Regions from separate parts of the Homo sapiens genome. Here all the other regions are linked to region 1. Evidence: promoter capture Hi-C in human tissues and cell types (Jung and others, 2019). All regions are on one chromosome and are shown on one strand. The core of a region is centred on a gene start or on the middle of the fragment in contact, and the rest is flanking DNA. Distances in the headings are between cores, read along the strand shown.

The links. The method cuts DNA at HindIII sites, captures the fragments that hold promoters and counts their contacts. A contact is called where the count stands out against the background at its distance.
Region 2: a contact is called between a fragment that was not itself captured here and the fragment with the promoter of RAB8B in region 1, in 1 of the 25 tissues and cell types used here (H1 embryonic stem cells).
Region 3: a contact is called between a fragment that was not itself captured here and the fragment with the promoter of RAB8B in region 1, in 1 of the 25 tissues and cell types used here (aorta).

What each region holds. Positions count from the first base shown.
Region 1 is chr15:63,187,644-63,191,712 of GRCh38, forward strand. It overlaps RAB8B (RAB8B, member RAS oncogene family), which reads left to right and starts at 1,963. Exons shown (of 8, transcript NM_016530.3): 1 at 1,963-2,105. The coding sequence starts at 1,982. LOC101928972 (a long non-coding RNA gene) reads right to left here and starts at 1,788. Exons shown (of 4, transcript XR_932355.4): 1 at 1,203-1,788. RefSeq lists an enhancer at 1,388-1,537 and a silencer at 1,718-2,047. The HindIII fragment of the contact is 5,046 bases long and covers 1-4,069 here.
Region 2 is chr15:62,759,316-62,763,384 of GRCh38, forward strand. It overlaps TLN2 (talin 2), which reads left to right. Exons shown (of 59, transcript NM_015059.3): 38 at 2,366-2,506; 39 at 2,957-3,138. Among named protein-coding and RNA genes, the nearest start is that of MIR190A, 63 kb to the right of the region's middle. RefSeq lists an enhancer at 1-376. The HindIII fragment of the contact is 6,877 bases long and covers 1-4,069 here.
Region 3 is chr15:62,787,447-62,791,515 of GRCh38, forward strand. The region is part of intron 45 of TLN2 (talin 2); the gene reads left to right. Among named protein-coding and RNA genes, the nearest start is that of MIR190A, 34 kb to the right of the region's middle. The HindIII fragment of the contact is 6,484 bases long and covers 1-4,069 here.

The sequences.
Region 1 (4,069 bases), core at 713-3,212:
ACAATCCACACTGTTCAGATCATGGCTGAAGCCACGTTCAGAGGCTTGCTCAAGGACTGGCTTGGGCAAGAGGGCTCAGCCTGTGCCAGAGGGCAGAATCCTTCTTCATTAGGGGCAGACACTGTGACTTTGAACTCATTAGAGCTTTGTTCCTATCTAGTGGACTCTAGGAATGAGACATTCCGTAAGCAGCAGCAGCAGCAGCAGCAGCCCTCTGGCTACTGTATGATCAATCAGTTAATGATGACACATTTCATCTTTTACCCGCATAGAAAATGAAGGCCAATTCTAGGGCCAACTAAGTCTTCTGCCACAATGCAACTGAGAATGGATTATCAGTGGCACTGTTCCTAAAGTCACAAGGCACACAGTATGTGTCCTTAGAAAAGCCTGCTGGTTTGTTCAACTAACTGTCCACGGTTTTTCCCCCCCCCCCTTTTCTTATTCCACTAATGGTGGAGTCCACTGGTTCCCTTAATAACCTCTAGCCTTCCAGAAGGTGTTTCCTTATAGCTAAGGTAAATGTCTGGACCAGTGGTTCTCAAATACTTTGGTTTCAAGACCCCTTCATCCTCTTAAAACTTATTGAAGACTCCAAGAAGCTTTTTTTCATGTGGGTTTTACCTGTCGGTATTTGACATATTAGAAATTAAAACTTCGAAGGGAGAACAACAGATGAGAGACACAGAGCCCTGGCAGGGTGGACTCCTAGTCCCACACCTTCTTAGCCTTTTGCTTCCACATTACCTGAACCAGTCAACACCCCTTTCACAACAGCTAATCCGGTTGGGTTTCTGCCACTAGCAAATGAAAGGGGACTGAACAATACATCCACAAAACAGAGAATTAGCCTAAGACAATAAATAATAAAGGATTAACTTGAGTATAACAGAATGCTGTTTCCTCCCTATATTCGTCATCAATTAAGTGAGAGCCTACTGAAGAGTAATGAATATTACCATCACTGCTAACAGTGCCTTATGGGTTTCAAAGAACTTTCACATTTAGTATTTAAGTTTCACTGGAACCCTATGAAGTATCTTGTTTCATATCCATTTTACAGATGAGAAAACTGAAATGTCCAGTGCCTGTGTGACTTGTCACAGCGGTTTTGCAGCAGAGCCAAGACTAAATTCAAATCTTACTCTCTAAATTCCCGTGGCCCGCCTCACAGGATGCTTGCAGTTTCATGGGGCACAGACCTGTAGCACAAGACTTCCCAGATTTAAAAATCCATCCTCCTGCGAGGAGAGGGGAGCGATCAGCGTAGCAGATTCTCTAAATACTCATTGTATTTGGCTCTGGTCTGTGTGGCGTGAAGAAGGGGGCACGAGTGAGGTTCGAGTTAGCATGGTAACCATTCTTTCTCAGCTCTGTGACTGAGGGGCTGCGGGAGGGGGTTATAGTGGTGCTGGGCATGGCCTCGGGGAGAAGCTGGATAATGCCCTCTGCAGATAACCCGTAGGCTGCGCCACAGCAGCGCCAAGGAAAGAAAGCATCTCTGCTCCAGGTCTCGGCGGAAGAGATGCGGGAACTACGGGGCTCTGATTCTGAGGTCCTGGATTTGGAAGGCGTCTGCACACAAAGAAATAACAAAGTTAAGTTCCCGCGGCTCGACCAGCAGAGTACGAAACGGGGCCTCCCTTCCCAGCTCGGGTGGAAACGCCTCCACCCTGTCACCCCGCCCATAGCAGGTCTTTTATCCGCTGGAGCCGCCTGGACAGTCCTCGCGGGGCACGCCCGAGGCTCCCCGGAGGAACTACAAGTCCCATGAAGTCCCGGGGCGCGGGCGGTGATGACGAAGCCCTCGCCGATTGGCCGCACGGGGCGGGGCGCGCAGGCCTTCTCCGAGAGGAGGGGCGGGGCGTGGGGCGGGGCGAGCAGCGGCGGATTGGCGGGCACGCCCCCTCGCCCGCGGCCCCCTCCCCGCCTCTCTCCACCGCCTCCTCTGGCTCCCCGGTCAGAGGGCCGGAGCGAGAAGATGGCGAAGACGTACGATTATCTCTTCAAGCTCCTGCTGATCGGCGACTCGGGGGTAGGCAAGACCTGCCTCCTGTTCCGCTTCTCAGAGGACGCCTTCAACACCACCTTCATCTCCACCATCGGTGAGGGAGGGGCCGCGGCCCGGGACCGGGTAGAGAATTGGGGGGCGGGTACTAGGGGACGGGGAAAGGGCGGGGGGCGCTTGGGAGCCCGGGAGAGGAGACCCCGGGGACTGCAAGGTGGCGGGGGCACTGAGAGGGGCGAGGGCGTGAGGGAGAGGGGCGAGGGCGTGAGGGAGAGAGGCGAGCGGGAACGTGAGGCTAAGGGCGAAGGGGGAACTTGGGGGCAAAGGAACGGGAAGGGGAACAGAGGAACAAGGACTAGGGGTATTGGGGGAACGAGAGGGTTCGGAGACTGACAGGGAGGGGTCTTTGAGGGACAAAATGTGTTGGGGGGAAGACTCAGGAAATCTCATGTAGAGAGAAGGGGATAGTGGACGTGCCAATGATTAAAAGACAGGAGAGGAAGGAAATGTGAAGGGGGAAATGAGGGATGGGGGCAATGAGAGGGATGTGAAGTAAAGGGACAGAGGACACAAGGGACAGAGAGGTGAGAACCAGGCAACTGGAAGGGAATTCAGGGGAATGAGCGGTCAGGAGGTGAGGAAGAAGGGGACGGCTGGCCACAGGAGGTCTGGACTGAGATGTCGTAGGAGGGGACAGAAGAAAATTGTAGGTGGAAGAAGAGTTCAAGGGATCAGAGGGCAGAATGAGGATACTTGATGGAGAAAGTAAAGGGATCTGGGTGTGAGACAGAAAGGAAAAGAGGAAGCAACATCATAGTAAAGGGAGGTTGAGCAGAGAAGACAGAGGAGATGGAAAAGAGAGGAAATGGAAAGTAGTGGGGCGCAAGACTTGCTATAGTAACTGATTACCATTTTCTCTTCACTTCCTTTGGATCAAGTGCAGGAGAAAGCAAAATGTGACTAATGATGGAATAATGTCTATAGAGCGTTAATTTGTTCTGTGAGTGTTAATGGATGTTAAGGGAATTGGTGACTTTTGGAAATGATGTGGTCAGGAAAATATGGTTCACCTCTTTACTACCATCTCCTGAGAAGCAAGACTTCTCAGTATTTTAAATCCTTCGGTTTGAATGTTTAACAGCTTCTCAGCCAAGGAAATGAACTTACATTCTACCTGCCTCCCTGTATATTTTGCTTTGGTTCTAATTATTGTTAAGTGAATCACAACATGTGATATACCTCTCAGTTACTTCCAATTGAATCAAGAGTTTTTCTGATCCTGGCTGGGAGCTGTCCTTTCTACTTTTGTACTGGAAGACACTGTGTTCAGGTAATAAGATCTCTTAACTTATCATAAACTGAAGACCAAGTCAAAGCTGGTTTTAAGCTGTTTTAGAAGTGACCACCTTAACATCATTTCTCCTGTTAAATAGTTGCAGGTTAATTAAGTACCTTAAGAATACCTCAGCTTTTGGTTGTGTTGGTGATGTTTCTGGCCTCTAATAGTGGCTTATTTAGTCATCTTTCGTATGGTTCTTACAGCATATTTCACCATGAATTTCTGGGTTGGGAAATAATAGAGAGCTAGTGCTTTGGTAATACGTGTGTTTAAATATTTGTGTATTTTTAAGGATAATTTATCTTTTTTTAAAAAAAGAGTATTTGGTATAGAACACTCTTTAAGTATTAGTAAAGGCTATGGTTTGTTTGCTCATTCTGGATTCTTTCATATAGATTGAATGGTCTAAAATCTCCTGGGTGTTATGATGTCTGGGCTTAGGGAAGTTTGAATTGCAAGTTCTTGGCAGTCAGTCTTGAGTGGGACTTTTTCTTTTCTGAAAAAGCAGATTTTAAATGTCATCTCTCAAGTATATTCCTAAGATTTGGTGGTAGCTGCTGGTACAGCAACTAAAGGGTGTTAATTTTTGACATTTGTATTAATTTCAAAGCCTCAAATAACAATTTTTCATTGTTGAATGCATACTGCAGTACAGATGGTAAAGGATAATTTCTAACAAGTTGAGTGGGTGTCCTTTTGTCCATTCTGTATTTGAGCCTCCC
Region 2 (4,069 bases), core at 854-3,353, 430 kb before region 1:
AAAATGATTGATATGGCTTGCTATTCTAGTTCATGTTATTCAAGGCTTTGACCTGCAAATAGCAATGGGCTATATGTTAATATGATTTTAGGGCCTGTGCTCAAAACAAAAGCCCCAAACAAACAAACAAACAAACAAACCCTGTCTTTATTCTAATAGTGCTGTCTGTGACACCTACACAATTAGAAAACCATTCCTTGAGATTTCCCTTGAGTTGTCATCTTTTTAGTCTGAAGAAGTTCAGCTTAGGCTTAGTGGCTTGATTGGCTGCCCTTCTTCCCAATAGACTGAGAGGTTTGTGGGAGCAGAAAGGGGAAGAGAAAAGCTTGGAGAGGTAAGAAGCAGGAAGGGCGAGCAGCACCAAGGGAAGGCTGAGCATCTCCTGTTAAGCTGGAAGTCGTGTGATCCCAGCTGAAGGGGTATGATTGGAGAAAGCCATGTAGCCACTGGTGGGGCTGGGACCTGAGTTTCTTCCACTCCAAAGTCCACTCTTGCAATCAGCCTGCTTCACTCTTTTGCCTGTGTTTGGGCCCATCTGTGTCAGGCTCCTGCTGAGTGGCACCCACCCTGCCTCGCACTGGTGTTCTCAAATTGCTCTGAAGTCTGGTAAACCCCGACCTCCAGGGATCTACCAAACTTCAGAGCGATATTAACAGTGCAACAAGATCACAGTACCAAAGTGGTTCACTTCTACGTGGCCAGTGCCGGCAGCATAAATCAACATTTACCAGCTATGTAAGTGGTAGTGAGAAATGAGGCTTTATATGTGAGCAAGAAGTAGCCGGCGTGCAAGGGTTTCCATTGGGCCTGGAAAAATGGCAGAACTGGAGAGGTGAGGGTAGGGTCAGGGCCTGTCTGGTGGGGGAAGGGCATGAGCCAAGGCAAGCCAGGTACTATATTAGCAAAAAACAGTAAATTAGCCAGGCTTGCGGGAATTCCTCTGAAAATATTAGCATTGTGGGTATGTAATTATTGTCCCAAGCTGCCAAGGCTTGATTGGAATGTAGTTGTTATTCAGAAATCGCCTTCAAACCAACGGTGGCTGCCTCCTCTTGCTCTACTGAAAAACAGAAATGCTCCCATCTCAGATCTGCTTTGCTTGGTAATGCCAGTGCCCCTGTTTTTTTTTTATCCCAATTGTCTAAATTGGCTTTATATGTTGCTCATAAGGGTTAAGTTAAAAGTTTAAGTGGTCATTTAACAAGGAAATTTGCATTCTTCTGCAAACATAACTGCCTTGTCAAGTGTAGCCTTTTGCTGGGAGGGAGGGTTTCTGTCATTGGGTCACAGGCTGTAGGTTCTAACAGTCTTGATCCTGAGGAGGTAGAGTCCAGGGCTGGGAACCTCATCGAAGTGTTGACCCTCTGTTAGCAGTCTAGCATGGATCACAGGCCACATTCCTGGATCCTTATCCATCCAGACCGTAAATCAGCAATAGGCCTGATCATGCAATGCCATTGTGTTACCTGCTGTTAGTTTTTTGTTTTTGTTTTTTTTTAATTATGAAGCATAAGATACACACAGAGAAAACACGTTATGTTTAGAGTTCAGTGAATTTTCTCAAGTGGAACACCCCTTGGTAACTCTAGCCAGATTAAGAAACAGAATGTTATTGACACCCAGAAGCTTTCCTTATGCTCTCTCCGGTCTTATCTGCTCTTCTAACACCCTAGATTAGGAGGGTCACCTGTGTTTGCACTTGGTACTAATGGAATTGTACAGGAGGCACCCATTTGTGGGTGGCCCGTTTTGTTAAATATGATGTTTGTGAGATTTATTTGTATGGCTGGGGGTAGTTCTCATCTATTCCTTCTCATTAGATTCCATTGTGTTCATTTCAGAATGATGACAGTTATGCCTGCCTTGCCTCCATCAGTCATTAGGGAATATCCAGGTAAAACTTAGAAAAAGTTAAAAGTACTGCTTTAAAATACAATACGGTATGTTTATTGTTTGGAAGAGAATAGATTTAATCTGAGTAAAATGAAGGCAAAGATCCCAAGGATTGTAGTCTCAAAAGTGAGGAGGAAAGTAGTCCCGCTGCATAGTCTGGTGCAGGGGGTCACGGGGCGTTGAAGAGCAGGGTGCTGTTTAAATCTGTGTCTCTGCTTCCTGGGAGTGGAAAGTTGACTGTGGAGTCAGTTGTCCTGTGAGCTACACATTTAATTCTCCACAACATCTAACTGGGCCCCTCTGCTTGATGGCAGGGGTCTCTTTCATCAGTTCCTATTTATTGTTTATGAAGTCACCAGAGATTTTCAGTGTTCCGGTTGAACCACCTTCTTTCACTAAGAGGTGATTACTGTGGTTCAGAAATAATTTGTGCTTCTCAATTGGGCAGAATCTCCCTGTTTTCTCCCATCAGGCCCTGGATGGGGATTTCTCTGAAGACAACCGCAATAAGTGTCGCATCGCCACCGCACCCTTGATTGAAGCTGTGGAGAACCTGACAGCGTTCGCCTCAAACCCTGAGTTTGTCAGCATTCCTGCCCAGATCAGCTCCGAGGTAGGGAGTGTTTACAGGAACATCATACTAAGGTCTTTGGCTAACTTTGTGTGGCACCAAATGAGTTACTAGTTAAAACTCCAACAGCTCTCTCTGTCAACATGTAGGCTACTGTTACTCTTGTCAATGATGGCATGTGCACAGTTAGTGAAACACAATGACTACACCTCTGTTGAGAGATAACATATATGTAGAGAACAATCTTACTGCCTAGGTTTGGGGCGATTCTTGGGATGTGTCACACTCAAAAAATGCTATTTAAGGGGCAAACATGGGCTTGAGTCCCCGCCATGCAGACCCCTGGTAATCCAGTCTTCATGGTTCCCTGCCCTCTTTGTCTCCTTCAAAGGGCAGAGGTGGTGATTTGGCAAAGAACAGGACCTTTCAGGGCCCACGTCATTCACTCATGTCTTCGACCCTGACTTTGATTTCTCTGCTGTTTGGTCTCAGGGTTCCCAGGCACAGGAACCAATCCTGGTCTCAGCCAAGACCATGCTGGAGAGTTCATCGTACCTCATTCGCACTGCACGCTCTCTGGCCATCAACCCCAAAGACCCACCCACCTGGTCTGTACTGGCTGGACATTCCCATACAGTGTCCGACTCCATCAAGAGTCTCATCACTTCTATCAGGTCAGTTTCCCATCCGGAGGTTGCTGCCAGCCTGCATCTCAGCGGGGAAGGAGGAGGATAAGCCCACCAGGCTTTTTACTTAATAGTGATATTGTTGATCATTATCATCTTTTTCTTTTCTCTTTGGGGCCGGAAGCACTGGTCACAATAGTAATTGCTAACTTAAGTACTTACCATATACCAAATACTACTACAAGTGCTTTATCTGTGTTACTTTATTTGAACATCACAATAGTCTTATAAGGTACCACTGTCATTATTTCCATTGTACTGATGAAAAAATTTAGGCAGAAAAATTTGGGTAATATCCCCAAGGTCACCTTAAGGCCCAATGGCTGTCTAATCACTGTACTACATTGTCCGTATCTAGGAGTTTAGTCATTGAGCACCGTTGTTTATTTAGCAGGATTTGTGGTTGCAGTTAGTTTGCTAATAAGACAAAGAATATTCTAGGGCCTGCAGTAACTCTGAGCATCTCTGACCTTGTCGATAGTGGGAGCCTAAAAAGACATCCCCAAGTAGATATAACATTTCTGAAGTTAACCAGTAAATACCTCGCAGCATGAAATTCATCTTTCCTTAATTATATTTTGCTTCCTAGTTGCTTTTGAAGCTCAAAACCACAGTTAACTTTATTTCTTAATGCCTTGCAAAGAAAAATTCACTACATGTTTTAATTCCTACTGTAGCCCAGGACTTTGTGACTAGTATGCAATGTAGAAAGCATAATATGTTTGCACTGGAAGCAGTGCTGACCTTTTTTTTTTTTCTTTTTTTTTTTTTTTTGAGTAAAAGTCCTGTGCTTAAGCCAGTGAATAGAAAATCCAAGTCCAAATTGCTTCCTTTGCAGTTGCCTGGTATCAGCCTAAGGTGGAGGGCAGGACCATATTCTTTCCACCAGAAATAAGTAGAGTTATCTGAAGTGTTAAAT
Region 3 (4,069 bases), core at 482-2,981, 400 kb before region 1:
CACAAAACCAGGAGATGATTTTCTCCATTTTACTTTTATTTCGACAAAAAAAGAATTGAGGGTTTTTCTTGAGTCTCAAGTAACACTTTTCTAAAGTTGCCAATTTAAAACCCCACATTTTATGTCTTTGAGCTACATTCCTTTCTAATAAACACTGGTAGTTCGTTGGATCACCCTGTGGGCTGGTCATATTTACTGAGAAGCTCACTATTGCATGGAGAAGCTTAGCATTTTTAAACTCCTTATCTTTTTTTTTTTTTTTTTTTTTTTGAGACAGAGTCTGTCGCCCAGGCTGGAGTACAATGGTGTGATCTCGGCTCACTGCAACCTCCGCCACCGGGTTCAAGCGATTCTCCTGCCTCAGCCTCCTGAGTAGCTGAGATTACAGGCACCCACCATCATGCCAGGCTGATTTTTGTATTTATAGTAGAGACGGGGTTTTGCTACATTGTCCAGGCTGGTCTCGAACTCCTGGCCTCAAGTGATCCACCCATCTCAGCCTCCCAAAGTGCTGGGATTACAGGCGTGAGCCACTGTGGCCAGTCTAAATCTCTTATCTTTTTGGATACAGACTCAAAAAATGAATTTCCTCTGTGGCTCACGCCTGTAATCCCAACACTTTGGGAGGCCGAGATGAGTGGATCACTTGAGGCCAGGAGTTCGAGACCAGCCTGGGCAACATGGCGAAACCCTGTCTCTACTACAAATACAAAAATTAGCCGGGCATGGTGGGGGGTGCCTGTAATCTCAGCTATTCAGGAGGCTGAGGCAGGAGAATCGCTTGAACCCGGGTGGCGGAGGTTGCAGTGAGCCAAGATCGCACCATTGTACTCCAGCCTAGACAAAAAGAGCGAAACTCCATCTCAAAAAAAAGAAACAAAGAATTTCCTTTCAAGGATGTTCCCCTAGTAAAACAAAATGTTCTGGGAAATTGCCAGTAGACTGTTGGTTCTGTTGTCCTCTTTCATTTAAATGCCCTAGCTGTTCCATGTGCCTCTGCAAAGTAATGGTAAGAGAGTTATTATTTATCAAGTCCTACCGCATGTCAGATGCTGTGATGGGCCCAATCTTGTTTCTCCTCACAACTGCAGTGAGATAACAATCTTTTTTTCTTCCCCATTTCACAGATAAGTAAACCCAGGCTCAGGGAACTTAGTTAAACTGCCCAAGACCACACAACTACAGTCGCTAGTATGCGAGCCACTTTAAATAACTTTTTGGAATAAGCGAATGTTCCAAGTAAGTAAATAAGTTAACAAGTAAATATGTGGAGTAGCCAGGATTCAAACCCAGGTTAGTCGGGCATCACAACCCTGGCTGCCTCTCTGTACCAGTCTGCCTCCTTTTCCAGCAGTACACATTCATATGGCACTTTCATCTTTTTGAGATTTTCCACATGTACCTGTTCATTTGACCATCCCATCAGCCCCCAGAATGGGACATAGCTTCTGTCCTGTGTCACAGGGGAAGGAACAAAGGCCCCTCAAGGTTAATGGGCTCACCCAGAATGTCAGGTTCCCAAGGAGAAGGCAGAGCTGGATGAAGGTCCCTAGTCCTTTCTGCTGCCCAAAGGGGTGAAACATTGAGAACAGGGCTGGCTGGGAATCCTGAGATCCCATTCTTCCTCTTAAATTCAGCCCTCCTGGCCCATGAACATCAGTGGATGAAGCCTGTTTCAGCTTGTCCTTGATAACCCTGCATCCCTTCCGTGTGCTGTCCAAATAGGATTGTGCAGACACACATGCAAGATACCTGTGAGGCTGAGCCTCAAGGGGGTCTCCAGGTACCTAGATGACAGTTGCGTGACTTGGCACAGCGCTGAATATGGAGGCAAAGCCCTGGGTTGACTGAGAACACCAAAGGCCTTTGCAGCTGTTGCCTCACTTACTCTCATCCCCTTGTTTTCTGGTGCTGGCCTTCCTTGGAGCTTCTTAACTGGAATTTTATTTCTGATGACCACTGGGCCAGCTGCACCATTGATCATATACAGGCTCCCTTGCTATATGCATCGTGTCACCTCCAAGAAAGGGGCCGGGCAGCAGGGCACTGGGGTATGTTTTTAGAGCGTAGCCTTTGGTGTGGGGTGGCACTAAGGGAACACAAAAGTGTTGTTGAGGATGTGTCCCACCATGGATCATGTCATCCCATAGGGTTCAGGTTCAAGACAGCTCAAGAGCGGGTCCTCCCTCCCTCCCACTCTCAAGGGGATTTAAGATACAGGTGTTCGTCCCGGTGCCTTGCATTTTGCAAATAGAAAGCTCAGGCTGGACTCTGCACGGGAGCAGGAGGAGTGCACAGAGAAGTTTGAGAGCCTGGGTCTCTTCTAGCATCATGGTTTCATGCCATGTTCTTCAAAACCCACGGAGAAGGTTCTGCATGTTTGCCCCTAGTGTCACTTTTTAAACTTAATTTAACTATTGTAGAAACTGTTAGGAAAACCCGCCTTGCTGTCAACCTTTCACTCATGTGGGTGGCAGAAAGGAGCTTTTGAGTGTGGTCTTGGCCAAATGGGAACCCCTTGGGGGCCACCGGTGCTTTGCTTCAGGCTGCTGGGTAGTTTTGTGCTGATCTCAGGCTGCTGCTGCTGCATCTGCCTTGTCCGCAGTGGTCAAGAACTGGGAGGAAACTGCTCTCCTTTGCTTTCTTTATGCATGTAACAGGATTTTCTCAACACTGTGTCACCAAAGCAAAACACAGAAATAATTTGGTGGCTAAGGCTGTAACTAGCCTTCATAACCTTATCTGTAAAACTTTGATTCACTCAGTCTCATTTTTGGCTTTTTATTGGGTCAAAGATACACATTTTAACTCATAAAGGAAGAGTATACTAATAACCCATTACTGCTATCCGTTTGACGTATTGAGATCCACAAGAGATTTAATTTCGAGAGGGAGAGGAAGGGTTCTGCTGCTAAGTCGAAAAATCAAAGAAGTTAGAAAAACACTGATCTACCGAGTAGAGCACTGTGCTCAGGATTAAAGACCTGGATTCTCACCTAGTTTTGCCAGGGACCAGCTGTGTGATCTTAGGCAAATCACATCACTTCTCTGGGTCTGTAAAATGGGGAGGTTGAACTGGTAAGATCTTTTTTACCTTGAAATTCTATAAATGTTTCTAACTCCATTTCCTTCTTACTTGACTTTTCCAGCAGCACTTTATCCTTTAAAGATCTGTGGTCATCACTGACCTCAGAGCCCTTGCCTCTAGATTATCTTACCCTGAAATACTTAGGTTTTAACTCTGTGGATCTGGAACACTTCAAGAGCCAGATTGTTTGAAACTTTAATGGGGTATACCCCTGCTTCAGCTTAACATTATTTTCAAACCAACAAACATGTCCCGCAAACACATATATTTAAATGACATGACATCTGTGTGGGCTGGAGTGTTTTTCCCGCCTCAGCGGCAGCCATACTACTACACCAGTCCAGATCTGTTTGCAGAGCTGCCGTGTTGTGCAGTCCAGAGGTGCTGCTGCTGTTGTATTCTGCATGGAGGTAGTCAACAAGACAGCCCTGCTTAATTATGAAATGTCTGTAGCACCCTGTGTACGAAGGTGTATAGAAGTGTATAGAAAGCACCCAAAAGAGCAGCAGCTTGGCTGGGCCTGGTGGCTCACACCTGTAATCTCAGCACTTTGGGAGGCCAAGGTGGGCGGATCACTTGAGGTGGACGGATCACCTGAGGTCAGGAGTTCGAGACCAGCCTGGCCAACATGGTGAAACCCCGTCTCTACTAAAAAAAAAAAAATACAAAAATTAGCTGGGTGTTGTGGTGGCCACCTGTAATCCCAGCTATTCAGGAGGCTGAGGCAGGAGAATGCTTGGACCTGGGAGGCGGAGATTGCAGTGAGCCAAGACCACACCACTGCCCTCCAGCCTAGGTGACAGAACAAGACTCTATCTCAAAAAAAAGAAGAAAGTGTGTAGAAGACACCTAAAGAGCAGAAGCTCAACTTTGTCGATCACGAGAATATTCTACTAAATGGATTTAAAAGTTCTTTGGGCCTTTAAGGGGTTTAAAGGAAGAGAGTTTTTTCCCTAAAAACAGTGTTTCAATAATATGAGA